5 separate regions of the Homo sapiens genome follow, and all the other regions are linked to region 2. Evidence: promoter capture Hi-C in 16 types of primary human blood cells and fetal thymus (Javierre and others, 2016). All regions are on one chromosome and are shown on one strand. Each heading gives the region's core, a stretch centred on a gene start or on the middle of the fragment in contact. The rest is flanking DNA. Distances are from core to core; before and after follow the strand shown. Region 1 overlaps NDUFAF2 (NADH:ubiquinone oxidoreductase complex assembly factor 2). Region 2 holds the start of LINC03122 (long intergenic non-protein coding RNA 3122). Region 3 overlaps SMIM15-AS1 (SMIM15 antisense RNA 1). Region 4 holds the start of ZSWIM6 (zinc finger SWIM-type containing 6). Region 5 overlaps ZSWIM6 (zinc finger SWIM-type containing 6).

Region 1 (2,700 bases), core at 94-2,593, 510 kb before region 2:
ACTTAAAGTATAATAAAAAAGGAAAAGTACTTATAAGTAAAAAATAATAGTAGAAAATAAATGCTATTATCATACACTATGCAAATAAAACCCAGCTTTTTGTTCAACCTAGGCATGTTAAAAAGACTTTCTAATTCTAATATTACAAGTATCCTTGAGAAAATTTTCCAGATAAGAGCTGTTCTAATTCCTGCCACACTTAAAAGATAACTTAGTATAAAAGAAAAGAAACATTCTCAAGAATTATTCTAGAAAACATTCATCTAATCTGAATACCACGAAGCTTTTTATTGCCAGAATGCAAAGGAACCAACCTTGATGTCTTTTAAAAAAATGGTTTTACCTAGCAAATGGTAAGACAAACTTTTAGTTTGTATCTTTAACTGGTACTTTTCAAGGAATTGACTATCACTGTTGCTGAAACTTGTACTTAAATATGTAACACAAATATCACTTTCCTTGAAATGAGTTATGAATTGCCATCCCAGAGGATATCAGTAGAACCCAGGGTACAAGTTCCCAACTTTTGGGGTGCTCTGGCATCACAAGACTCTTCCTAAATTTGTTGTATGGCATGTAATTCATTTTGAAAAGGGAACAGTAGATTTTGAAACCATCAAAATTCTTGAGAAACAGGATTTGGATGCACTCTTGGTTATCATGAAAGCAACATTACAGGTTATTGAACCGGAAGAATTTCCCCAGAGATCTTATATAACTTGCCTGACTCACTTGCCATATTGCAGTGTTCAGTCAAGCCCAGTCCAAGATTTTCTGACAAGTCTGGTTCAGCAATGCCTGACTTGATGTGTTTTTTCGGAGAAGGAGTCAATGAGATTTACCTTCCCTCCCTCTAAATTACTTCTTATAGTGAAGGGTTTGTTTGATTCCCTTAATATTCATTTGATCTCTGAGAAGGAACATTGTTCCAGGGAAAACTAGCAGTAGGCCCCAAAAAGGAAGACTCTAAAATTTATTCAACAAATAACTTATAAATGCCTATTCTGTGTTAGATGTTGGAGATATAGAGGAGAATCTGCAGATGGCCAAGGGAGTTTATGCTCCAGTGAGAAAGACAGACACATAACAATACGAAACAGTACCAGAAATGGGACATTACAAATGTGAAAACAGGTTCAACCTTCTTTAGGCTGAAAACTGAAGGATAAAAAAGGAATACACGAGAGAGTAGCATGACACTAAAGCCAGATACTATGATGAAAAGATTGACAAATTTGACAACATAAGAAGTTTCTACTTTTTGATAGTTAAAATCCTAGACAAAGTTAAGCCAAAGACTGAGGGGAAAAGTTTTAAAATACAGAATAAAGACTTCTCTTTTTTGTATTGACAAAGTTGTGGGGAAACAGGTATTCTCATTCACCATAGATACAGGTGTAAGTTGATGTTAACTTTTTTTTCTTTTTTTTTTTTTTGAGGCAGGGTCTCACTTTCTTTCCCAGGCTGGAGTGCAGTGGAAAGATCATAGCTAACAGTAACCTCAAACTCCTAGGCTCAAGCAATTCATCCTCTTCAGCCTGGCACAGGCCACCACGCCCAGCTAATTGTGTTGTTTTTTTGGGGGGTTTTTTGGTTTGTTTTTTATGTTTGTTGTAGAGACAGGGTCTCACTTTGTTGCCCAAAATGGATGTTAACTCTTTAGAGAGCAATTTTCCAAATATATGAGAAACTTTTAATGCAGCAATTCCAGTTCTGAGAAGGTATCCTAAAGAATGAATGGCAAATGTATACAAATTTTATACAAGAATGTTGTTTGTAGTATTGTAAAATATGAACCATTCTAAACATTCATCTATAGGGGATTGAACGAATAAATTACAATGGAATACTAACTAGTATGCAGCCATTATGAAGGATAATGTACACCTATATATATTGACACAAAAAAGATGTCTGAAAAATATTGAGTGAAAAGCAGTTTATGGAATAGTATTCGTAGTATATATTTTATCTATAATTATAAACATGTAAATGGGATACACTATATTTATATTATAAACACATGTATATGCAGGGGGAAGTCTATAATGATTAGACTTTTTAACAGTGGATATGAAATTATGAGATATTTTCTATTTTGTAGATTTCTGTTGTTTACATTTCTGTATTTTTTTCAAGATGTATTACTTTTGCAGCTAAAAGAACAGTGATTTCCATTTTAAGAAAGAGAAAAGAACATTCTGAAGGAGCTTTTAAAAGTTCTGCTTTTCCCCTTGGCAAATATGTACTCCCACACTATTTCAAGTTTCTTGTTTCTTTGCTAAACCAAAATGGCAAGCGGATTAAATGAGAAGTATATGGCAACACAGCCAGTCACCTATTTACTTACATTCACTAGCTGTGTGATTTGTCTATTTATAGTTTGTTTCTTCCTACTAGAATCTAAGCTTCATGAAAGCAGGACTGTGTTTTGGTCCCTGCCATCTCTCGAGGATTTAGAACAGTACCTGGCTCAGAGTTCATGCTCAATAATATTGAGTGATTGTGTACATGAATAAGTGAAAGAAAGAGGGCTTCAGCCTAGGTCTTTTGGTGGGTTCCTTCTTTACCCTTGATTCTCCGTCTCCTTTGTTCTTATTTCCCAGTGATCTTTTTGCTTCCCTCCCCCACCTCCTTTGAGAATTCTCACCTCAATTTGTTTCTTCATATTGCTGTCTCCATCACTGCTGGAACATCGCT
Region 2 (2,700 bases), core at 3-2,502:
TCTTGTCAGGTAATGCCTTCTGCATGTTATGACACAGCAAGAAGGCCCTCACCAGATGCAGCCCCTTGATCTTGCACTTCCCAGCCTCCAGATCCATAAGACAAATAAACTTCTGTTATTTATAAGTTACCTAGCCTGTGGTATTCTGTTACAGCAGCAGAAAATGGACCAAGATATCTTACAGTTTTGGAGGCCAGAAGTTCACAGTGGGTTATCAGGGCAGGGCGTCTTCAGGAGGCTTGGGGTGGAGGGGGAGGAATCTGTTTTCTTGCCTTTTCCAGCTTCTAGAGGGTGCATGCATTCCTTGACTCATGACCCGACATCACTCCAATTTCTGTTTCCATTGTCACATCCCTGTCATTCTCACTCTTATCTTCCTATCTACCCCCTTATTAAAGACCATGGCAATTACACTGGGCCCACTCAGAAAGTCGATAGTAACATCCCCACTGCAAAACCTTTCATCACCTCTTCAAAGCCCCTTTTGCCATTTGAGGTAACCTATTCACAGCCTTCAGAATTTTTGAAGGAGGGGAGGCATCATTCTGCCTGCTATATACATAGTCTTTGGATCTCAGTTTCCACATCTGTAAAATGGAGAACTACTGTCTTCCCCACAGGGCTATTGAGATGATTGAATGAAGTAATTTCTGCTTATGAATTCCCAGCTCTGTGCCTGCCATGGAGGCAGGCAATTCTGATCCATGTTCTCTTCTGAGTGGGTTGTCAGCTGGAGGCCTTCTACTTCTTTCTAATCCATTAGCTTCTTGCTAGTGCTGCGTCCCCAGGAGGAAATCAGTAAATGCAAGAAATAATTACCTTGACAATGCCTTGCACATAGTAAGTACCCTAAAATAATTCATTGAATTGTTTGTTATTTTGGTGTTAATGGATGGGGATCATCTGATTAAATGTTATTATTTATTAGATCTAAAATATAAATTTGGATTCTTCTGTTGCACTTTTACCTAATTACTCTAAACACCAGTGGGAGAGAGGAATTAGTCACAATACAACTTAAAGAAAAAAATATCTTGCTGTCACTGACTTCTCTCCTTGGTCTGAAAACTTTCTGATTTTGTAGGATGCCACTGACTGCTCTTTCTGCAACTGAAAAATCTCTCAAAGGGCCCTGTCCAGTTAGGTCACACAAAGCCAGGCTGATTATTTAGAGAGAACACAATGCTCCCTCACATGGGGCACAGAGAGGAAGGAATTTTTTTTTTAAGCCAATTCCAGTCCCTGGAGCTGCAAACTGCCCTCAGGGCAAAGAAGCCTGCAGAATAATTGGGAGGAGTCTGGCAGGAAGGAAGCCAAGGTAAGTTAAGCTGCATTTCTGTCTATAGCCAGGGTCTCCATGCCACTTTTTAAACATCCCCTTCTGGGATAAACCTGTATGTCAAGATAAACAATTAAATAATATGCAAGGGCCAAATCAGGAAAACTGCAGCTTCAGCCCTAGAAAACAATGCCAAGAAACACCAGCCTGTCTGCCGCTGCTAAGTCGAGGAGATGGGTTCCCATGATTCCGTAAGAGAACTGGGTCAGGGAGGAGACACTGTCTGTTTAGAATATGCTTCAGGCCCCTAAACTTGGTCGGTTTATGCTTTTTCAGGTTAATAAAGTGGAAAATAACTTTACCTCATCCCTCTATCAAAGCATAGTGCGGCTGCCCCAGAGACCCCTAATACAGCCAGGGATGATGTGTTTGGAAAATGGGGCAAGAGAGGGTCCAAAGATGAGACCCCAAAACTGTGAGGGGGAGGTTGTGTGAGGAGGACAGACCAGAGCTGGAGGGGGACTGTGAGAAGAGGAGTCTGGTTGCTGCCGTCTCTGAAGGGTCTTCCTAGGCTCCCACACCATCATGTCTTGGCCAGCCAAGGCCAAGTGGTTGTGTAAACTTAGGATGGTCATAGAATCCTGAACTACTAGCACATGGGGGTTGAGCTTGTCTGAGGATCTTTTTGAGGAAATGGGGGAAGTATTATTCATGTAATGTGTGACCAGAGTATAGAAATCATGATCCCAGCAGATGGCATGAACGGACACTGAATAGTCCGAATGTCTCATCTCTCTGGACAGAGCAGGCTGGTGGGATCTGGGCAGTCGGGCTGGCTGAGGAGGCATATTTCAGAGTCCAGAGCGAATCCCAGCAGTAATGCCTGGGAACAAAGCCAACTGGTGCCCAGGGCAAGCAGCCCAGTTCTGGGGTCAGGCTACCAAGGTTGTACCAGGCAAGAGAAGAAGGGTGAGCAGGGGAATATTCAAGAGCATCCAAGAATGCAGGGAGCTAATGAGCATGGGAGTGCAGAACTGAGGTCAGAAGGCGTGGCCAATGGAAACTCCCAGCAGCCCTGTGCAGGGGCTCTGCGGATACCTGCTAGCTCTTGGGGCTTAAGCACGCAGTTCGGGACTGGCAGCTCAAAAATGTCTTGAGCAGATTGGCCCCTCAGATAAAGTGGGACACACAGTCTTTTTTTTTTTTTTTTTTTTTTTGAGACGGAGTCTCGCTCTGTCGCCCAGCCTGGAGTGCAGTGGCGCGATCTCTGCTCACTGCAAGCTCCGCCTCCCGGGTTCACGCTATTCTCCTGCCTCAGCCTCCCGAGTAGCTGGGACTACAGGCGCCCGCCACCATGCCCGGCTAATTTTTTTGTATTTGTAGTAGAGACAGGGTTTCACCATGTTAGCCAGGATGGTCTT
Region 3 (2,700 bases), core at 24-2,523, 410 kb before region 2:
TGATAGACTTCTTACTCCATTACTTCCCACAGAGCTGGTTGCTAAAGAGCCTGGCACCTCCCAGCTCTCTCCTGCCTCCTCTCTCACCCTGTGGTCCCTGCACAGGCTGGCTCCTCTTGGCCTTCTGCCTTGATCGGAAGCAGCCTGAGGCCCCCACCAGATGCAGATGCCCAATCTTGAATTTCCCAGCCATCAGAATCATGAGCCAAATAGACCTTTTTTTCCTTTATAAATTACCCAGCCTCAGGTATTCCTTTATAACAACACAGTGCTTCTTTTCACTGGCCACTTCTCACCACCCCATTGCCACTACACTGGTCCAAGCCAAAATCAGTCTTCTCTGGATGAAATGGGCAAAAGCCTTGAATAAGCTTTCACAGAAGCAGAAACACAAATGACCAATGTTCACAATATGTTTAATCTCATTAATATCAGAACAATTCAAGTTCAAATTTGCAATGTAAATCGCTAGATTTAAAAAATATCATAAGTGTCATAAGACAAAGTGTGAGTGAGGATATGGAACAAATGGAAACCCTAATGCCTGCTGTTGGAAATGCCAATTGTGCCATCATGGAGAAGACAATTTGGTATTAACCCCTAAATATGAACTTCACCATGTGTACCAGGAGACCTGTTTTGGAATGTTTACAGCAGCACTGTTTATCATAATAACAAAATCAAACAACCCTTCTCAAAGAAACACAATTTTGAGAAGCTAGAAAGAACTCAGATGTCCATTGACTGAATGAGTAAATGAACTCATGAATATGAATAAATAAATTATAGTATATTCATACTATATAGTTTGGGGCAGTGAAAATGAACGAAGCACAGCTGCACACTGGCTTTCTCTTCAGTCCTGCTGGCCCGTGTTGCTCACACCATACAGTTCAACTCCACAGTGGATCCAGTAACACCGTCCATCCAGTGCCAGTGTGGGCTTTCAGTGCGGCCCCAGCTCCCTTCCTCTTAAATGCCACCTCTGACTCATCCTGCTTCTGGCTTTATCCACCAAATAGTTACTGGACCTCACCTCCAACGCAGGCGCTGTGTGTGTGTGTGTGTGTGTGTGTGTGTGTGTGTGTGTGTGAGAGAGAGAGAGAGAAAGAGAAAGAGAGGTGATTCTTGAGGAGAGAGAAGATTCCAGAACAGTGTTATGATTCTGTTAGGAAGAGGAAGGAGGGAATAGATGCTGGATATGCCTGCACGCAGCCACTGCCCACTACTGCTGGTTTGTTTCTGTGTCTTCTACCATAGTGCAAACTCCTTAAGGGGAGAAACCATGTCAGTCGTCTCTGCATTCCCCTACCACAGTGCCTGGCACATGCCAAGCATTCAAGAAATATTGAACAGAAGCATAGCATGAGAGAGACCTAACTGGTCAGACCTATGGAAATAGACCTAACTGAAACAGAAACCAGGTCAAGAGCCTCTTGCCAGAACCAACACGCTCCCTGGGAGAGCTGCTATCAAAAGATAAGGAAATGGGTGGATGACAAATTAGGAAGTAGAGGCAGTTTAAGGGCTACTCTGAGTGGCAAAACAAAAGCACGGTGGTCAGGTACAATGATCGCCCCTGGGGAAGGGAGCTAAGTTCGCAAGGCTGTGACCACCGTTGCCTTTTAATGAAATCTTCAGAAGTAACCCCATAGGAAGGTGGTATTTTCCTGATCTTAAAAGAAGCACAGCAGGAGTTTTTGTTCTCCAGCCGCGGAGTCGTGGAACATGGCTTGCCATCCAACTGGAACGGCATTTTTGGCAGCAGTGCCTTTTGGTAGCTTTTCCCAGCTTGCCCTCTGCATAAGCCAGCCACTGCCCAGGCAGGCTGTGGTGGCACCACAATGCAGATGCACCAGGCCCTCTGGGCTCACCCACTTGCCTCTGTGTTTGAAATCAGTCCAGTGTTAATGCATCATACACCCCTGGTGATGACTCATTTACAACCCCTGTGTCTGAGAAGGTGCCGGAGAACTCAGAGAAGAGAAGCTCAAAATTGTCCTGACTTACGGTCAAAACACTAAGATCTGGCCAGTGTGTGCAAGTATTTCAGGACCAGAATCGACCCTCCTCCCCCGCTTCACAGCAGGGTCATCACATGTGGTTACGCATGTGGTTGCACGGAAGCTCTGGCTGCGGTATAGGGGGCACTGAATCCAGATTGCACTCTGCTCACCAAGCTTGCAGGTGGGGTGCTTCCTCCATCTGCCTGGACGATGGGGCTCTTTTCTTCTCCTAGACACTTCTGCTTGCCAAGCCAGGGCTGCATCTGCCTAGAGGGGCCCTCTCATCTAACTGTTACAGAGGCACAGTGTTACCTTCCCATCCTATCCTTAGGACAGACCCAGAAGCCTTGGGCTGATTTGAGCTTGCTTTTTGTCCCAGCAGGAAGTATGCAAGTATGCAAGAACCAGCAGCTTTCTTACTGGCAGTGAGACCATCCGAGATGCTTGTCCTCCTTGATCCTGTTCTCTGCCAACTTCCCATTCCCCTTCCTGCAGATGGGCCGTGATCCTGGCCTATCTTCCCAGCTTTGCTCATGGTTATCTGTGTCTTCCTGGTTGCTGTCTGTCTGCAGAGCATCCTCTGACCCATTGATCACCCTGCTGGTGGGGGCCGTGGCTGCTCAGTCTGCTCTCAACCTGCCCCCTGGCTCCTCGCCAGGCTGATTCCTGGCTCATGGCTTAGCCCTCAACTTCC
Region 4 (2,700 bases), core at 152-2,651, 310 kb before region 2:
GGACCCGAGGGGACTGGCCCTGCGGGCGCCGCCAAGGCGACTGAGAGCGCGGCGCGCGTCCCGAGCGCCTGGACTCCGCGCAGCCGGGCGCCGCGCACCCGGGTGCCGGGGTGGGAGCCGGGCCGCAGACCCAAGTGCGCCCGAAGCCGCCGTCCGCCGCCTGGCACGCCGTCTGCCGCCTGCTGGGCGATGTGTGCGCGAGCCCGTGGGGCTTGCGCGCGCCCTGCGGCGTGTGTACTCACAAAGGTGTGTCTGCTAACCCCACAGCCCGGGCTGCGTTCCACCCCGAGCTGGAGAAACCCCGGCCTGGAGCGGGGCCTTGTCCGCGCGGCCGCGGGGGCGACAAGGGCGGCCGGAGCTCCTCGACTTCTAGCGGGCGGGTCGGTTTCCTGGCCCGAGGGGCTGAGGCAGCGAGGGCGGGACGGTGGCAGCCGGCACCGGACGCGGGTCGCGCGGCTGCTGGGCACGTTCCGAGCGCTCTGCGTGTTTTCGGGCACAGCCCTGCAGCCGAGACAGAACGGACGCGGGGCTCGGGGATGGGCGCACTGCAGCCACGCGGGGTTAGCAGAGCGGGCGCGCTCCTTCCACACCAGGTCTGCAAAAGTGAAGTGGAAAGCCGCCGCCGAACGCAGCCATCCTCCCCCTTCCCCGCTGCAGCTTCGGCGGGTGGTGGGGAGAGCTCCCCTGGACCGGCTGGAGGGGAAGCTGGCAGGCGCTCGGGTTTGGCCGCGCCTCCTCCGCCTTCCTCTCCACCCGCGTCCCCCGGGGTCCATGCCGCATTTCTTTGTTTTGAAAGCGCCTCCTCCGCCCAGAGGCTTTTCCCCCGAAGGGCAGGGGGACGGGGGGGGTGGGGCATCGGCCCGTGGGCCCCGCCCTCCATTTAGCTCAGAACCCTCCCCTTCGCTCACCCCCTCTTCTCCCCTTTCCTCCCCCGCTGCGACCCACGAGGCGCATCCTCACTTCTCGGACTTCAAAGAGAAGCTGAGAACTGGAGGGGGAAGTGGGGTAGGCAGGGGGCGCAGAGACCCACCCACCTCAGGCCCGGCCCGGCGGCCCGCCCCCTCCCACGGGAACCCCGCCTGACCCCGCCCTCCCCCGCGTCACAGCAGCCTGACATTCTCACAACCCACCGGGCACCAAAACGGCCCGCCCCCGCCACCCCCGTGTCCGCCAAGCGCTCTATTTATGTTTCAGCCCAGCGATTTGCATAGGCCCCGCCCCCGGCCCTAGGTTCCCCCTATCAGAGCCCCGCCCCAGCTTCTGCGTCACAGCGGAGGCCCCACCTCTTGTGCCCATACAAGGAGCGGCGGGCCCTAGATGGCATCGTGGCGTCGCGACGGCGTGTGCGTGTCGCGCTTCCTAGTGCCGTTTATAGGGTCCCGGCACTTCCGCTGTCGGGTTAGAAGCGGCGCGGTCATGGCGGAGCGCGGACAGCAGCCTCCTCCCGCGAAACGGCTTTGCTGCCGGCCGGGCGGCGGCGGCGGCGGCGGGGGCAGCAGCGGCGGCGGCGGCGGCGCGGGTGGCGGCTACAGCTCTGCCTGTCGGCCAGGCCCGCGGGCGGGTGGCGCGGCGGCGGCGGCGGCGTGCGGGGGCGGCGCGGCGCTGGGGTTGCTGCCGCCGGGCAAGACCCAGAGCCCCGAGTCGCTGCTGGACATCGCGGCGCGCAGGGTGGCGGAGAAGTGGCCGTTCCAGCGCGTGGAGGAGCGCTTTGAGCGCATCCCGGAGCCGGTGCAGCGCCGCATAGTCTATTGGTCCTTCCCCCGCAGCGAGCGGGAGATCTGCATGTACTCGTCCTTCAACACCGGCGGCGGCGCCGCGGGCGGCCCCGGCGACGACAGCGGTGGCGGCGGCGGCGCGGGCGGCGGCGGCGGCGGCGGCTCCTCGTCTTCCCCGGCCGCAACCTCGGCGGCCGCAACCTCGGCCGCCGCCGCCGCTGCCGCCGCCGCCGCCGCCGCCGCCGCCGCCGCGGGGGCCGGGGCCCCGTCGGTGGGGGCTGCCGGGGCGGCGGACGGCGGCGACGAGACGCGGCTGCCTTTCCGCCGGGGCATCGCGCTGTTGGAAAGCGGCTGCGTAGACAACGTCCTGCAAGTCGGTGAGTCACGGGGCAGCCGCGAGCCGTCTGTCCGTCCGTCAGTCCCTGGGTGGGGGGGGGGTGCCCGCCTTTCTCCTGCGGACAGCCCCTAGTTCCGCGCGCGCCCGCACCCCTGCGGGTGTCCTCACTGGCCCGGACGGTCCTCCTGAGCGGAGCGCCCATTTCCTCCCTCCCTTCCCTGCCCCCCGTCGCCCCGGACGGGCCAGCGCGAGTGGGAAATGAATCAGCAGGACGCGCCCCTCCGTGGGCTCCGCGCCCCCGGCCCGCGCTCCCCTACCCGCCCTCCTCCGGGGAGCACATCCTGGAGGGCTGTTCGCCGGTTTCGGGGGTGGATGTGGACAAAGGCGCGGGCGGACGGCCGGCCTCCGGCGAGGGTGTGTGTGGCGGGGCTGTGCGGGGCGGGGGAGGGGGCGCGGGCCGCAGACAATGCCGGCCGCGGCCCGGCCGCTCGGCGCTCCCCCCCTCTCCCACTGCCTGTCGCTCGCTCCTTTTTCTTTCTGGCCCCCGCCCCACGCGATTTGAGGGGAGGGGAATACACTTAAAGCCGCTCGGCCGCCGCTCCTCCCAGGGCTCCGACGGGCGAGCGGCCGCGGCGCTCCCGGGTCGCT
Region 5 (2,700 bases), core at 39-2,538, 280 kb before region 2:
TAGTAATGGATGTGTAACCCATTCACGATATAGTACCTTCTTGTTCCTTGGAGCTGATACTACACTCAGTTGAGGGTGACTTTTTCTTTGTTGGACATTTACAAATAATTTCAGTCACAACATTTAGTGACATAAATACTTTGACTTGAAACAATTACCATTTTCTCGATTTTTAGTGGGAGACTGGGGCAATGTGTGTAGGACATCCTTCAGAAACAGATGAGTATAACAAGCTGTGTGAGGCAGTAGAGGTGCACACACCTCAGTTACTGGAAGGCACAACTTCGAGTTCTTGTGGATTGTGTTGGCAGCCCTGTAGATAGATTCAGCAGATGCTGTAGACATTCTCTTACTACCGAATTATAGCTTAAAGACCTAACTCTTAGAGCAAGCCTTAAAATGTGCTTTCCCCGCTTTGTTTTAGGAAACTCTTCTGTTTGCTGATGAGGAAAGGTTATCTTTCCAGGCAGCATCCAGGAATGGTCTTTTGAATGTCTTCATGCCTTCTTGTGACCTCATTCCTGCTGCCATCGTACTTATCCCTGCTCAGATTAACTGCCTGCGTGTTCAACTTTATTCCATAGTTGGATCTACCTGTAGCATTTGCAGCTTTCTGTGTAGACTGGGCACAAGTTAAAAGCTTAGGAAGTCTATATAACTCACCATAATTTTAGCACTTTAACTTATTAAGGTACATGTTTTGGTTATCTGATTTATAGAAGTACCATGTAAAAATCCACCTATGCTGTACAATTGCTGAAATACTGAGTAAGCTCTGCATTTTATGACCAAGTTATAGGATGAATAATTACTCTCTGGAGTGAATGGTTCAAAATGAAATAACTGTATGCCTTAGGTGTGACGTGACACGAGATGTATTTAAGCCCCAAAAGTATGTAATTATCACACTACTCTTGCATAGACACACAAGTACATTTTTGCTTATGGCAAGAGTTTTATGTGCAAAAGAAAACTCACTTTCTGGTAAGCGAAGGAACAGTCCATTATTTTTGAGGGGTTCATAAGTTGTTTGGTATTAGAGGCTCCATTTCAATCCCCCTGCATTTCTTTAGGGTCTAATTTAAATTCATACATCACTTGATTCTAGAGTAAACCATTATCATACCCTGGATTTTGAATATTAAGGACAGTTGAGGGAGTTTCTCAAAGCACCATTTTATGACTTATAGTCTGCCTCTGTATTCAGTGACTTATTATATATTCCATTCTTAGACTGCATTTTGATCATCAACTGTATTAAGGCAATATATGTTGTACTTTATTTTACTTTCTACTGAAAGTAAGAGCTATTTTGTAGTCTATTTAGATTTTTAATTTTATAATCTGGTCTCATTTTACAGATCATGAGTAATTAAAGGTATCTCAAGCTGATTTGTCCTGTTTTTAATTCAGTATTAAAGTATTATTTTAATCACATTAAAAATGTGACTGATATTTTTTGTTTATCACAATTCTACTAGCCCCACTGAGTAACTGCTGCTGTTGAATTAGTGATGGGGTTATATCAGTTTCCCTTGTCAAAGGACCAGATACGTCAGCTTGGGTATTTAGCTTGGTAGTTGTGACTTAGTTTTCTGTTCTCAAGCCCAGGAGATGAGAATTCCTTATTCTGGGTGCCAGTGGAGGCCTACAGTGGCTCCTGGGTGTTCCTTTGGGCTAGAGAAAGTCAAGTTGAGATGCCCCCGGCTTTCAGACTAGAAAAATAAATAGCAGTGATGGTATTGATGTAGCTAAGTGATGTAGCTTACCTGTTTACAGTGCGAATCTCTTGAGAGACTTTAAAACACACACACACACACACACACACACACACACACACACACACACACACACACACACACACACACACTATTAGATGGCAGGAGCCAGAATGTTAACTTAGTTTTGTAACTAAGTGTTAGAGAACAATACATTTAAAGCTTTAAACTTTTAAAAAATATAATTTACAAGTAATTTGTAGAAAAGGATAGTAGATTGCTACCATTATGCTAAATATCAATCTGTTCAGTAAAGAGACTGGCAAATTTTAATTCATCTATAATTTTGCTGTCTGATGTGGTAGCCATGTGGCAGGCTGGAATTGAGATTACTGAAAGTGTAACACATGCACCAGAGTTTGAAGACTTAGTGCAATAAAAAGAATGTAAAACATTATGAACAATTTATTGAAATGATAATATTTGTGTTAAAAGTATTATTAGAATTAATTTAGCCTGTTTATTTTAATTTTTAAAATGTGACTACTAGGAAATTTAAAATTACATAGTGGCTTCATTATTTTTTAATTAGTGCTAGTCTCTAGGCCCTTTGGTCTCATAATAAGTTCTTTCTGTTTATGTATACAATTCAGTTATGATTTGATTACATACTTGATTTTAACTTTTTGCCAGCATAAATCTAAACACTGTAGTGATTCTTAAACCTTAGTTTCAAAACACTGTGTGTGTGTGTCTGTGTGTGTGTTTCGGCAGAGATGGAGCCTTGCTCTGTTGTCCAAGCTGGAGTGCAGTGTCAGAATCATAGCTCACTGCAGCCCCGAACTCGGGTTCAAGTGATCTTCCTGCCTCAGCCTCCCAAATAGCTGGGACTACAGGTGCACGCCACCATGCCCAGCTTCAAACACTTTTTTTAAGTTGCCCTTCACATTATTTGAGACTGTTTTTTATCTTAAATTTTAAG

What was found. The method cuts DNA at HindIII sites, captures the fragments that hold promoters and counts their contacts. A CHiCAGO score of 5 or more calls a contact.
Region 1: a contact is called between a fragment that was not itself captured here and the fragment with the promoter of LINC03122 in region 2, in 4 of 17 cell types (naive B cells, naive CD4 T cells, total B cells and 1 more). The highest score is 7.5, in naive B cells.
Region 3: a contact is called between a fragment that was not itself captured here and the fragment with the promoter of LINC03122 in region 2, in 1 of 17 cell types (activated CD4 T cells). The highest score is 5.0, in activated CD4 T cells.
Region 4: a contact is called between the fragment with the promoter of ZSWIM6 here and the fragment with the promoter of LINC03122 in region 2, in 15 of 17 cell types (activated CD4 T cells, total CD4 T cells, non-activated CD4 T cells and 12 more). The highest score is 17.0, in activated CD4 T cells.
Region 5: a contact is called between a fragment that was not itself captured here and the fragment with the promoter of LINC03122 in region 2, in 1 of 17 cell types (megakaryocytes). The highest score is 5.2, in megakaryocytes.

The regions. Positions count from the first base shown.
Region 1 is chr5:61,129,778-61,132,477 of GRCh38, forward strand. The region is part of intron 3 of NDUFAF2 (NADH:ubiquinone oxidoreductase complex assembly factor 2); the gene reads left to right. Among named protein-coding and RNA genes, the nearest start is that of SMIM15-AS1, 31 kb to the right of the region's middle. The HindIII fragment of the contact is 2,125 bases long and covers 282-2,406 here.
Region 2 is chr5:61,636,529-61,639,228 of GRCh38, forward strand. It overlaps LINC03122 (long intergenic non-protein coding RNA 3122), which reads left to right and starts at 1,253. Exons shown (of 2, transcript NR_126525.1): 1 at 1,253-1,318. The HindIII fragment of the contact is 4,932 bases long and covers 1-2,700 here.
Region 3 is chr5:61,226,983-61,229,682 of GRCh38, forward strand. All of the region lies in intron 3 of SMIM15-AS1 (SMIM15 antisense RNA 1), which reads left to right. Among named protein-coding and RNA genes, the nearest start is that of LINC02057, 37 kb to the right of the region's middle. RefSeq lists a silencer at 726-926. The HindIII fragment of the contact is 1,809 bases long and covers 370-2,178 here.
Region 4 is chr5:61,330,857-61,333,556 of GRCh38, forward strand. ZSWIM6 (zinc finger SWIM-type containing 6) reads left to right here and starts at 1,402. Exons shown (of 14, transcript NM_020928.2): 1 at 1,402-2,092. The coding sequence starts at 1,417. LOC105378994 (a long non-coding RNA gene) reads right to left here and starts at 1,360. Exons shown (of 2, transcript XR_007058781.1): 1 at 1,284-1,360. RefSeq lists an enhancer at 1-62 and silencers at 1-446, 477-546, 757-1,156, 1,267-1,406, 2,187-2,296 and 1 more. The HindIII fragment of the contact is 10,173 bases long and covers 1-2,700 here.
Region 5 is chr5:61,353,628-61,356,327 of GRCh38, forward strand. The region is part of intron 1 of ZSWIM6 (zinc finger SWIM-type containing 6); the gene reads left to right. Among named protein-coding and RNA genes, the nearest start is that of ZSWIM6, 23 kb to the left of the region's middle. The HindIII fragment of the contact is 1,300 bases long and covers 639-1,938 here.